Regions from separate parts of the Homo sapiens genome. Here region 2 is linked to region 1. The links are contacts of gene promoters, found by promoter capture Hi-C in human tissues and cell types (Jung and others, 2019). All regions are on one chromosome and are shown on one strand. Each heading gives the region's core, a stretch centred on a gene start or on the middle of the fragment in contact. The rest is flanking DNA. Distances are from core to core; before and after follow the strand shown. Region 1 holds the start of CLSPN (claspin). Region 2 overlaps KIAA0319L (KIAA0319 like).

Region 1 (6,418 bases), core at 1,150-3,649:
GGCAGAACACAGAGGATGCTCAGGCAGGGTCTTTCTGAGGGGTATGAGCTCTGAAGTCACATAGAGTCTGAAAATTGGCTCCACCAGTTTCTAGCCTTTTAAAAGTCTGGTTTCCTCATCTTCTAAGAAAGAGATAATAATATTACAAGTTTACTCTGAAGATTAAATAAGATAACACTTATAAAATCCTTGCAACTGTTTCTGCCACTGAGTAAGGCTTCAATAAACGTTAGCCCTCCATATATGATGGGGAGTGCCATAGATGTATACCTGGGAATCGTTGATGTAGAAATTAATAGTAAATGGATGAAAAGGTGGATAAACCAAGACACAAAAAGAGAAGAGGATGGATGATGGGCTCTTGTTGGTGGGGACAGAAGTGGATTGAGAGATGGTGGGGAAGTAAAGAAATGAAGATGTGGAGAGGGAGCTTTTTTCTGAACCCAGCTAAAGGTGGAAACTTGGAAGAGGAGGCCAGTGGATTGGGTGAAGAACCAACCATTTGGTATACCTGTGACTGAGGAGGTTCTCAGGATGCAGGACTTTTAGTGCTAAAACTAGGAAAGTCCTGGGCAAGCTGGGCCAAGCTGGCCACACTGGCAGTGGATATGACCATGGAGGGTGAAGTGAGCAATAAATACTCTGACCTTTCTTTCCTGGTGGCCTCTCATCTCCTTACAGTAACCTTATAAGGTGTCTTTACAGGGGCCTGACCCAACCAGAAGGGCAAGGGAGCTGGGATAATACAGTCTAGAGAGGTCAGCCTTGCCTTGACACACACCAGGGTAAAGGAAGGACAGAGAATTGACCTGGAGAGGCAAAAAATAATGGCCAGCACAGTGGCAAAACTGGGATTAGAATTGTCTGGGATAGGCCAGGTGCGGTGACTCACACCTGTAATCCCAGCACTTTGGGAGGCTGAGACGGGCGGATCACGAGGTCAGGAGTTCAAGATCAGCCTGGCCAAAATGGTGAAATCTTGTCTCTACTAAAGTTACAAAAAATTATCTGAGCGTGGTGGCACATGCCTATAATCCTAGCTACTCAGGAGGCTGAGGCAGGAGAATCGCTTGAACCCGGGAGGCGGAGGTTGCAGTGAGCCGAGATCACGCCATTGCACCCAGCCATGGTGACAGGGAGAGACTCTGTCTCAACAAAAAAAAAAAAAAAAAAAAAAGAACTGTGTCTGGGATAAACCTGATTTCAGAGCTTCAATTCTTTTTCCAGCCTTGTTTAAAGGTAGAATGCCCTCTAGGAGTGATGAGTGCTTTCTACATCCTCAAATTAACTCTACAGAGAATTATAAAGATTATCCAACCATATTCTTTGGTATCTGAGCAGCCCACAAAACTTTTTTCTTTAGAGACAAGGTCTCCCTCTATCGCCTACGCTGAAGTGCAGTGGTGCGATCATAACTCACTCTAACCTCAAACTCCTGGACTCAAGCCATCCTCCCACCTCGGCCTCCCAAAGCGTTGAGATTACAAGCGTGAGCCATGGAGCCCGGCCCTCTTTAAAAAATAAAAGTGGGCCGGGCACAGTGGCTCACGCCTGTGAGGGGTATGAGGCCTCCCAGCACTTTGGGAGGCCGAGGCGAGGATCATTTGAGATCAGGAGTTCGAGACCAGCCTGGCCAACATGGTGAAACCCCGTCTCTACTAAAAATACAAAAATTAGCCAGGGGTTGGTGGCGGGTGCCTGTAATCCTAGCTACTCAGGAGGCTGAGGCACGAGAATCGCTTGAACCCGGGAGGCGGAGGTTGCAGTGAGCCGAGATCGCGCCACTGCATTTCATCCTGGCTAACAGAGGGAGACTCCATCTCAAAAAAAAAAAAAGTGTGTGTGTATACACATACATGTGTATGTGTATATATGTGTATGTATATATGTGTGTACATATGTGTGTGTGTGTGTATATATATATATATATATATATATATATATATATATATATATTCAGTGGTAAGTGTCATGTACAAGAGGCACACAGGATCTAGCTGCTCCAGAAATGAAGTCAGTGGAGAAAATCCCCACGGGAACCTTGGAATTCCTCTAAAAAGTTCAGGTACAGGACACTCCCAGGTGCCCAGGAACCGTTTCCCAGCTCACTTCCCCCCGAAAGACTCACCCCTCCAATCGCACTCGATGCTTTGGCAAGTGTCAAAGGTCAAAGACCACGGCTCGCCTGGTACCGACTGCCCCGCCCCCGTGCACCTCCAGCTCCCCCAGGCTCCGCTACCAGCAGCTGCGACCCGCCAACTCAGCCTGGGTAATAGGAGATTGGGCGGCCAGAGGCGCTGCGTGATTGGTGGGTCGGAAGGGGGCGGGGACTCGCTGGAAAGCCCCCTCTGGATTGGTGCAAACCATCTGGGTGGGACCTCCACTCTGGCTGGGCGGGAAAGCAAGAACAGCACTGCTGGGCTGGAGACGGCGGGAGCCGCTGCTCTCCGGCTGAGGGAATCAGAGACAGCTCCGTCCCTAGTGGAGCGCAGGGGAGGCAGAAGTCATGACAGGCGAGGTGGGTTCTGAGGTGAGTTTATGCACACGCCCCCCACGGGGGCTTAGAAGGCCGGGCACCGAGAGGTTAGGTGGGGCCGGGGTAGACCCCGCTGACCCGAGGCGCCCGGGCGGGAGGACTGCGGCTCCCGGCGTTCGCCGCGCCGGCTCCCGCGGCCTCGAGACTCGGCCGGGATGGGTTCCGACCGGGCATCCCGTCCCGCCGCCGGGCTTCCCGCGCTTCGGGCTCCGTGGCCGGAGAGCTCCAGGTCTCTGCGGCGCGCACTGCCGGCAGCCCAGCCCCTCTTCAGCCGGTTCCTGCCGCCAGCCCTCCCCTTTGGCGCGTTTCCTGTCGCGGAAGCTCCTCCCCTCAGGGTGCTCTGAAAGCCGGGAGGCTCTAGCCGAACCCGGCCGCAGCGGTGCGGGGGGATTCTCCGCAGAGAGAGGGCGAGCGAGGGTGTTAGGGAGTTCCACACTGGGCCTGGGAGGGGCCCTGGAGGTCATCGCGCGCAGGCCCTTTGCGTTTTCCGACCGGGCCCCGAGTGGGGAAGTCACCGCTGGGGCTCCTGGCTGGTGGCTGGCAGCTCCCTGGCGAAATTGGGCATAGAAAACAGATGTTTCCAGAGCTGTGTCCTTTCTGGGCCGGATTCGGGCAAGGCACTCCCGCCTTAGGAGCAAAATTTAAAGGGGCGCCAAAACCCTCAATCAAACTCATATTTTAATGCAATATTTTTAAAAAACCAAAATTAATGCAAAAACTTTTTATGATTTGATATTGAACAAAATATCAGACGTTTAAACAAAGACGAGATCCGACCAGTCATTTGCACGACCTTGCCTCAATCACCTCACCCTAATTCCATCCCTGTTTCCAATAAACTTTATTTACAAAAGCGGGCATATTATTTACCTCATGAGCTGTAGATTATTGATTTAATTTTTTAAAAAATATTGCATTAATGTTATTCATTTTGATTACTGAATTTTTTGAGACCTCACCCCACCCTGTTACTGGCCCTGCCCTTTGACGTTGCTGCAAATTGCCTAGAAGATAATCGTCATTCAAAGCAGCCCTATTCCTTGAGCTGTCTGGTTACCTAAATTCGGTTTCCACACTCACAAACAGAAGTAATAGTTTTACTGCTTTGGATTGTTGAGAGGATCATCAGTGCATACATATTAATTCTCAGCAATCCCAGCACTTCGGGAGGCTAAGGCCGGCAGATTGCTTGAGCTCAAGAGTTCGAAACCAGCCTGCATAGAAAACATGGCAAAACCCCGCCTCTACAAAAAAAAAAAAATTAGCCGGGCGTCGCCTGTGGTCCCAGCTACTCGGTCCCAGCTACTCGGGTGGCTGAGGTGAGAGAATCCTTTGGGCCTGGGAGGTCAAGGCTGCAGTGAGCCATGATCCTGCCACTGCACTCCAGCCTAGGTGACAGAGTGAGACACTGTATCAAAAAAAAAAAAAATTTGTACCTTGCATTCAAATCAATTTAATAATTTTTTTTTTTTTGAGACGGAGTCTCGCTCTGTTGCCCAGACTGGAGTGCAGTGGCACAATCTCGGCTCACTGCAACTTCTGTCTCCTGGATTCAAGCGATTCTCCTGCCCCAGCCTCCTGAGCAGCTGGGACTACAGGCACACACCACCACGCCCAGCTAATTTTTGTATTTTTAGTAGATACGGGGTTTTACTGTATTGGCCAGGCTAGTCTCGAACTCCTGACCTTGTGATCCACCCACCTCGGCCTCCCAAAGTGCTGGGATTACAGGCGTGAGCCACCATGCCTGACCAATTTAATAATTTTTTGAGAAACCACTCAGCTGAGGCCTTGTGCCCTGTTACATTACTGATGTTCATATTTCTCCCTTTATTAATAAGTTGATTCAGAGCCCTGAGAACACTAAGGAGGTAGACTTGGCATCTAGGGTTAGCTTTAAGGTCACTAACTGATCAAGTCACCTAACACACCCCTCCTCCTTAGGTTTTTATTTGCGACTTTTTAAACTGTCTTATTTAGAAATTTTCAAACCTATACAACCGTAGAAAGGATGGTATAATGAACCCATCACCTTACTTCAACTACAGTTTGAATATCTCTCGTCTGAAATGCTTGGGACCAGAAGCGTTTTGAATTTCAGATTCATTTTGGATTTTGGAATATTCGCATACACATAATGAGATATCTTGGGGGAGGGACCCAAGTCTAAACATGAAATTCAGTTATATTTCATATATACCTTACACACATAGTCTGAAGGTAATTTTATACAGCATTTTAAAATAATTTCGTGCATGAAGCAAAGGTTTTACTGCAGCTCATCATATGAGGTCAGGTGTGGAATTTTCATCTAGTGGCATCATGTCAGTGCTCAAATATTTTGGAATTGGGAGCATTTCAGATTTTCAGGTTAGAGATGTTCAACCTGTATTTTCAAGTCATGGCCAATCTTGTTTTATTCATACAGCTACCCATTTTTCCTCTCACAGGATTATTTGGAAGAAAATCCAAGATATCATATTATTTGAACCACAAAGATTTTAGTGTGCATATCTAACAAACAAGAGCTTTCCAAAAATAGATACTACGATATTATTACCACACCTAAGAAGTATCTAGTCAGTGTTCAGATTTCTTTGACTCAGAGATATTTCATTTATTTTTATATGCCACTTTAGCATAATTATTTACATTTTTAGTTTTTTGAATCATCATCCGAAGTTGGCATTTTGTAATTGTTTATATTATATATGTGTATATATGCATATATGTATGTATTTTAAGATATACATACATATATAAAGCATACATTTATGTATATAGAAATATACAGGGCCGGTTGTGGTGGCTTACGCTTGTAATTCCAGCATTTTGGGAGGCTGAGGCAGGCGGATCACCTGAGGTCAAAAGTTCGAGACCAGCCTGGCTAACATTGTGAAACCCCGTTTCTACAAAAAATTAGCCGGGCATGGTGGCACGCACCTGTAATCCCAGCTACTCGGGAGGCTGAGGCTGGAGAATCGCTTGAACCCAGGAGGCGGAGGTTGTAGGGAGCCAAGATCGTGCCATTGCACTCCAGCTTGGGCAATAAGAGCGAAACTCCGTCTCAAAAAAAGAAAAAAGGAAATATACATATAGCCGGGCGTGGTGGCTCACGTCTGTAATCCCACCACTTTGGGAGGCTGAGGCGGGCGGATCACCTGAGGTCAGGAGTTGGAGACCAGCCTGACTAACATGGAGAAACCCCATCTCTACTAAAAATACAAAATTAGCCAGACGTGGTGACACATGCCTGTAATCCCAGCTACTCGGGAGGCTGAGGCAGGAGAATCGCTTGAACCTGGGAGGCAGAGGTTGCGGTGAGCCGAGATCGCGCCGTTGCGCTCCATCCTGGGCGACAACGGCAAAACTCCATCTCAAAAAAAAAGAAATATACACATAGCATATAGAAATATACATACATATATAAATATATAGAAATATACATACGTACACACATATATACATTCACTTATGTGTTAACTTTCTTTATAGGTTTCTCTCCCTCTCTTTTTTTTTTCTTTGCAATATATTGTTAAAGAAACCGGCCGGGTGCAGTGGCTCATACCTGTAATCCCAGCATTTTGGGAGGCCGAGGTGGGCGGATCACCTGAGGTCAGGAGTTTGCAACCGGCCTGGCCAGCATGGTGAAACCTTGTCTCTATTAAAATAGAAAAAATTAGCTGGGTGTGTTGATGTGCGCCTGTAATCCCAGCTACTCAGGAGGCTGAGGCAGGAGAATCGCTTGAACCCAGGAGGCAGAGGTTGCAGTGAGCCGAGATTGCACCACTGCACTCCAGCCTGGGTGACAGAGCGAGATTCTATCTCAAAAAAAAAAAAAAAAAAGAGAGAGAGAGAGAAAGAAACCACCCAGTTTGACTT
Region 2 (6,418 bases), core at 2,239-4,738, 320 kb after region 1:
TCTCTGAGGCCACAAGGGGGAAGAAGGGTTGTAGGGTGTCCTAGGTGCTTGATGGCCCCTGTCCAGGAGCTGGAGGGAACTTTGCTTATAGAGTTGCTACAAACAAGATGATTTTGTCCTGAGAGTTCCTCTGCAGTCTTGCCCCATTTCCTTTTCTTTCATCAGGAAGGATTTGGGCACGTGATTAAGAAATGCATTTTGCTTCCTTGCTGGCAAGAGCCAAACCAACTACTGGGCCAGAAATGCTTTTTAGAAACATCACTCTTAAATCATTCTTTTGATCAGAGACTTGCTCAGAGAACTTTCTTCCTTTTACAAACTAGAATGGTAAAGCGTTCAAGTGTTCTAGAAGCTCATATAAAGGATAAGGCTAGAGGTGTTTGAAAGCTATTTGAATTTTCTGACCAGCAGGCAGCCTGTATTTTGAGGCCAAATGACACTTTGTCCAATTGAAATATTTTTAAACATGTCTTGTCAAGGTCTGGGTAACAGTAGTTCGTGTCTTTGCTGAGGGAGTCATTGTCTCCTCCTGCTAAGTTAGGGACAGGACAGCAGCAGACAGGTACAACTCTACCCTCTAGTTTCTTTTTTTGCAGGGGACCTGATGGGGTGCAGCTCGAGAATGCTAACAGCAGTGTTGCTACTGTGACTGGGCTGCAAGTGGGGACCTATGTGTTCACCTTGACTGTCAAAGATGAGAGGAACCTGCAAAGCCAGAGCTCTGTGAATGTCATTGTCAAAGAAGGTACCTCTCTGCCTCCAGTTTGTGTAGCAGCCTCTTAGGGTCAGATAGCTGAAGAATTTATCCTGTCATGTTTGCCTGCAGAAATTGATTAGAGATAGCAAGAGGTGGGTAAGAGGGTTGGGGTGAGGGCAATTGTTATTTTCTTTTCTAAAACAGCCTTTAATTGGACTGTAAGGTGAATTTTAACTTCCCTCCCTCCTCCTGCTTACATCTTCCCTTCCCTCTCATCCCCTTACTTTCTTTTCAGTCCTCCCTCCTTCCCTCCTTACTTTATTTCTCAGTTGAATAGGGAAAGAATTAAGGGTTCTATTCTTTGCATTTTTATTTTGCCCCTCTGCATTGCTGAGACCTGGGCCGTGACTCCTGTTAGCTACAGTGACACCTGCTGTCAGGCTTGAGAATGACGGCCGCACTACAGCTGACTATGCTTGCCCTGAGCCTTTGAGCTGAGGCCAGCCAGAGGCCTTGCTCTAGTTTACAGGCACAGTGACCAGTGAGAGCTGTGGGAGAGGGCCTTAAGTTGAGGGCCTTAAGTTGATAGCAGGAAAAACCATCAGATATGCAGACCTCCAGACATAAGATACCAAGCTGAGTAAATACTGCACAGACATCTGAATATACAGAGCTTCACGTGGGGCTCCGAATAAGAGAGGTAGCTCTTTGTTTTCTCTTGTGAAGTTCCAAGGAAGGGGTCCAAAAAGATATTCAGAGAATAACATTTTAAGATATTTTGAAGGAGAATTTGCAAGATCAGCTAGGTGAAACCTAAACTCCAAGGTTTTAAGCCAGTTTGGGCCGTTATTTCTGATCATCACATACCTCCAAAGCAGAGAAATGGATTCCATTTGGGAAGGCTGCTGGGAGAATATGAGAGGAAAGCACACTCGTCCCCTCTGTTGTACAGTGTTAGGAGAACATTTCTCTGGGTAGGACTGGAACCTCAGGACTGCAGCGCTGGTAGCTTTCATCTACACTGTTGGTTGGTGGCAGGGACAGGCACTTAAAAAGGTTCTCCAGTTAAGGTACTCTTGATGTTTTAATTTCCCCATAAGCATCATGAAGAAACATTTCTTCTTTTCCAGAATGTCACATTATGTCAATGATTTCTTTTTGATTAGAAATAAACAAACCACCTATAGCCAAGATAACTGGGAATGTGGTGATTACCCTACCCACGAGCACAGCAGAGCTGGATGGCTCTAAGTCCTCAGATGACAAGGGAATAGTCAGCTACCTCTGGACTCGAGATGAGGGGAGCCCAGCAGCAGGGGTAAGTGTGCTAGGAGCTGGAGAGCTACACAGGAGTGGGGAGGAGGAGGAGCCACGCGTTCCAGTATATGCTTTAATCAAGTGGTCCCTTATATCAAACCCAGATTGTTCTCTGAAATCCAGGGAGGTGAAGTGACTTGCTTAGGGTCATTCTGTAAGCTAGTATAGCACAGAATGGGTTTCCCTTCCCTGATCCTAGCAGTTGTAGGCTGCAATGCTGTTCCGTATCAGGAACTGCCCAAGGTTGAAACAGTTCAGCCCTGAAGGGCCTAGTTATGGTGAAAGCAGCAACTGACTCCAGGAAAGGAATGGCATTTTGTTCTGTAACATAGCCATGTTGTTCAACCCTACAGGAGGTGTTAAATCACTCTGACCATCACCCTATCCTTTTTCTTTCAAACCTGGTTGAGGGAACCTACACTTTTCACCTGAAAGTGACCGATGCAAAGGGTGAGAGTGACACAGACCGGACCACTGTGGAGGTGAAACCTGGTGAGTTCATTTAGTGATGAGGCTGAGTAGAATTGCTGAATCAGCCAATCAAGGCCTCTATCCTGAGATCCCCTTCCCCGAGCATGGACAGAGCCAGATGGCATGTCCAGCTTTAAAAATAATCGAGAAACCCCAAGCTGAAAAATCCATAGAGACCGTCTGTTCCAATAATACCTCCTACCCATGCAGAAATACAGACCTCCCCCTATTCATCTCAGATGGAGAAACAAACTCAGAGAGGGCAGGACTTGCTCAGTGTCACACAGCAGTTGTGTCAGAGCCAGGCCTTTGTGCTCGTAGTCCAGCACTTTCTCCTCTCCTCGTGACTGATGAGAGAGGGCTCAGAGTGCTTGGGAATCTGAGCATGGGAATAGCTTGAGTCATGATGTCTCATCAGCATCCAGATGCAGAAAACAATTTATTTTTATAAGTTGAGCCTCAGGCCTTGTCTGATAATCCAGGGAAGGTAAAGTAATAGTGCTCTTTACATTTTTCAGCTTTGCAGAAATAAAAATTTTCTTCTTAAATAGAACCATGTTTTTATTTTGCTTTGAGATTAATATGGTGATAGGGAGGCACTGAGTATGGAGGTGGGATAGAGCTGTATAAATTCCTGAGCTTCTGATGAAATGGTATTAACTTTAAACCTACTCTTTATTATCTAGGCCAACCTCATATATGGATGTTTTGGACAGGAAGGGATCTTGGGAGGTCTTCCAGTCCTTGTCCTGCCTCTAGGAAGGACAGTAGCTGAGACACTATAAAATCTCTTTGGTGTTTAAAGTCAGATCACAGATAGTCTACTAATTATGCAAATTATACATCAGAACAGGCAAGTGGTGCATTCAAGTATGTAAATAAGGCATTCCAAACAATCAGTTTGAAATTCCAAATGTAGAACATCTTTAGGACATATTCAAAAGTAAAACATGATAGCCTCACCGTTTTAGAGTTATACAAAGATAGTGCAGCTGTGATGTGGCTCTAAGGAAATCCTTGTGTCTTGGCTGACTGGATTTTCTTTTGTTAACTGTATTTAAACCTGGAGGGACGGATGCATTCCCATTATTGAGGAGGTTGTTGAGATGGACACTTTTCCTCCCATTGTTGTGCACAAAATACAGCGAGGCACTGAAAATCAGATGTGAGTCAGGAGAGATTGCTTAATAACCCCCACTTGGCCTGGATTGCTCAGCACTGCCAGTTGCACAGAGGCTTTTAAAACAAATGTTTAAGTGTTTCTCTCTTCCCCACTCCCGTCATTACTCCCCACCCCTCATTGCATCACTGCTTCAGCCTTATCCCCAGCACATGTGTGGGAATTCTCAGGTTGGTATAGAGAGCAGGAGTGCTTTAGAAGCTTTCTAAGCCAGCCCCAGATTGCCCGATCAGGAATTCACTATTGTCCCTTTCCATTTGAAGGATATCTGAATGTTCTCACTCCTTTCTCTCCTGTGCCAAAGCAAATGCACAGTGGCAGGTCTGTGTTTACTCTCCTACTTCTAAAGCCATGACTGATCCACATGCTTTCCAGATCCCAGGAAAAACAACCTGGTGGAGATCATCTTGGATATCAACGTCAGTCAGCTAACTGAGAGGCTGAAGGGGATGTTCATCCGCCAGATTGGGGTCCTCCTGGGGGTGCTGGATTCCGACATCATTGTGCAAAAGATTCAGCCGTACACGGAGCAGAGGTAGCTGGGCAATGAATGGGGGGAGCAAAGGAAAGACCAGGGGCCCCCGGGCTTCTTGAATGAGCTGAGAAATAGTGTGGTTAGATAGAGAAAGGTGGGCTTTCTGACCAGAAACACTCATGTTGCCTTTTCTTCAATAGACTTCTGTCTTCTAGTGCAGGTGACATGCGCTGTACTAGACACTTCAGCAGGGCTCCAGGGTGTAGGAGGTCAACTATTTTGACAACCACAGTCTAGTAGAGGAGATAAGTAAATATGGAACATTAGTACGGTGTGGGTTTGGTACAACAAGCGGCATTGTGGAACACTGTGGCAAGGACAATGAATTCTTCTAGGAGAGTTGGGGTAGGAGTAATCCAAAGATTTTTCTAGAATAAAGAAAACTTCAACCTGGGCAACATAACAAGACCCCACCTCTACAGAAGATTTAAAAATTAGCCAGGTGCAGTGTGGTTCGCCTGTAGTCCAAGCTATTTGGGAAGCTGAGGCAGGAGAATTACTTGAGCCCAGGGGTTTGAGGCTGCAGTGAGCTCTGATCACACCACTGCACTCCAGCCTGGAAGACAGAGTGAGACTGTCTCAAGAAAAAAAAAAAAAAGAAAAAAAAAGGGGAAAAGGAAACTTATATTGACCAGGCATGGGAGGATGGGGAGGAAATTCAGAACAGGGCAACAGCATTGAGCAATGGCCCTGTGGTATGAAAGTACACAGTTTCTTCCAGAAGAAGTCACTTGGTTCAAGCTTAGTGGCCCCAGGATGTGGTAGAAGACAAGACTGGCAGTGGAGATTGAGAACAGTTATATGCAAGCTGAGGATCTTAGTTTTAATAGTTTGGGTAGGCAGATCCAAGTTGGTTTGTTTTATGTGTGTGAAGTTTTTGTTTTGTTTTTAAAAGCAAGGAATTTCCATAATTTGATTTTTTTTTTTTTTTTTTTAAAGAAAGATCAGTAGTGTGGAAGCTAGTCTAAAATAGGGAGAGACCAAAGGCTGGGAGACCATTCAGGAAGCTTCTGGACTAGTCCAGTGAAAAGGTAATAAAACCTGAATTAAGATAGTGGAAGAAGAGGAGAAGAAATTAAAAGAAATTCAGTGGTAATTCAGTAGTACCTGGCCCTTTACGAATGAAGGTGAGTGAGATAGCAAATGTGAGGCTTTTGGTTTGGATGTCTGGATAGATGGTTCAGGTCATTAACTGAGATTGGGAAGGCAGGCGAAACCAGTATGGATGATTGAATTTGGGGTGTCTTACTGGCTGCGTCAGGAGATGTTCCGTCAGATAGCCACAAGTAAAGGCTGGAACTTGTGGAAGGAAGAGCCCGAGATAGGAGTTACTGCATACAGGCAGGAGCCAAAGCCATGAGAACGGGTGAGTCTCACTAGGAGAGAGCTAAGATGGATAAGGACACAACTCTGAAGGGCATCATTATTTAAGGAGGAGGCAGAGAAAGAAGAGGTAGCAAAAGAAACTAAGAAACAGCAATCAGGTGGGAGGAAAACCAAATGAGAGTAGTCTGCTGGAAGTTAAGGGGTGATCTGGCAAAAGGGGTGCTTCCAAAGGATTCAGATGCTACAGGGATGGAGGTGTGGTGAGAACACAAAGTAGGCCTATGGGTTTGTGATTAGTAGATCAGTGCAACTATAGTGAGAGCATTTTACTTAGATGTTGGAGGCAGAGGACAGATTTCATGGTTTGAGGATACAGAGATGGTCAGTATAACACCTTTTTGAGGAAGTTGGTGCTGAAAATAATATGGGAGGTAGGATTGAAAGAATATCTTTAAAAATTTTTTTTCATTGTGGTCCTTGTGGAACATGAACATCTTTTTAAAATAGGAAGTTTGTGAGCATTTGTATAGACTGAGAGGAAAAGGAGATGGTGGAGATAGGGGATGGGTAATAAATGGAGGCAGATCTGGGGGACCAGCCAAGTTGGAAACATGAGGTGAGAGCAGTGGTTCCCAACTCCAGCCACACAATAGAATCTTGCGGAGGTTGTCTGAACATAACACTGCCCAAGCCTTAGCCCCAGAGATTATAGTTCAGTTGGTCTGGAGTGGGGTCTGGGTACCTAGAATGGAAAAGCTCCCCAGGTGAATTTAATCTACAGTCAGGGCTCACTAGGTCAGAGATAGCACGATTAGGGATAAGTATACTCAGCAGCCTGGGAGTAGGAACAGGGCAAATGGCTGCTTGATTGATCCAAGCTGGCGGGAATTGG

What was found. The method cuts DNA at HindIII sites, captures the fragments that hold promoters and counts their contacts. A contact is called where the count stands out against the background at its distance.
Region 2: a contact is called between a fragment that was not itself captured here and the fragment with the promoter of CLSPN in region 1, in 2 of the 25 tissues and cell types used here (bladder and mesenchymal stem cells).

The regions. Positions count from the first base shown.
Region 1 is chr1:35,765,959-35,772,376 of GRCh38, reverse strand. CLSPN (claspin) reads left to right here and starts at 2,399. Exons shown (of 25, transcript NM_022111.4): 1 at 2,399-2,530. The coding sequence starts at 2,507. It overlaps CLSPN-DT (CLSPN divergent transcript), which reads right to left and starts at 2,282. Exons shown (of 3, transcript NR_199050.1): 1 at 2,129-2,282. RefSeq lists a silencer at 2,557-2,786. The HindIII fragment of the contact is 25,943 bases long and covers 1-6,418 here.
Region 2 is chr1:35,445,955-35,452,372 of GRCh38, reverse strand. KIAA0319L (KIAA0319 like) reads left to right here. Exons shown (of 21, transcript NM_024874.5): 13 at 597-745; 14 at 1,864-2,015; 15 at 2,368-2,506; 16 at 4,041-4,200. Among named protein-coding and RNA genes, the nearest start is that of ZMYM4-AS1, 83 kb to the right of the region's middle. RefSeq lists a silencer at 1,094-1,273. The HindIII fragment of the contact is 6,659 bases long and covers 159-6,418 here.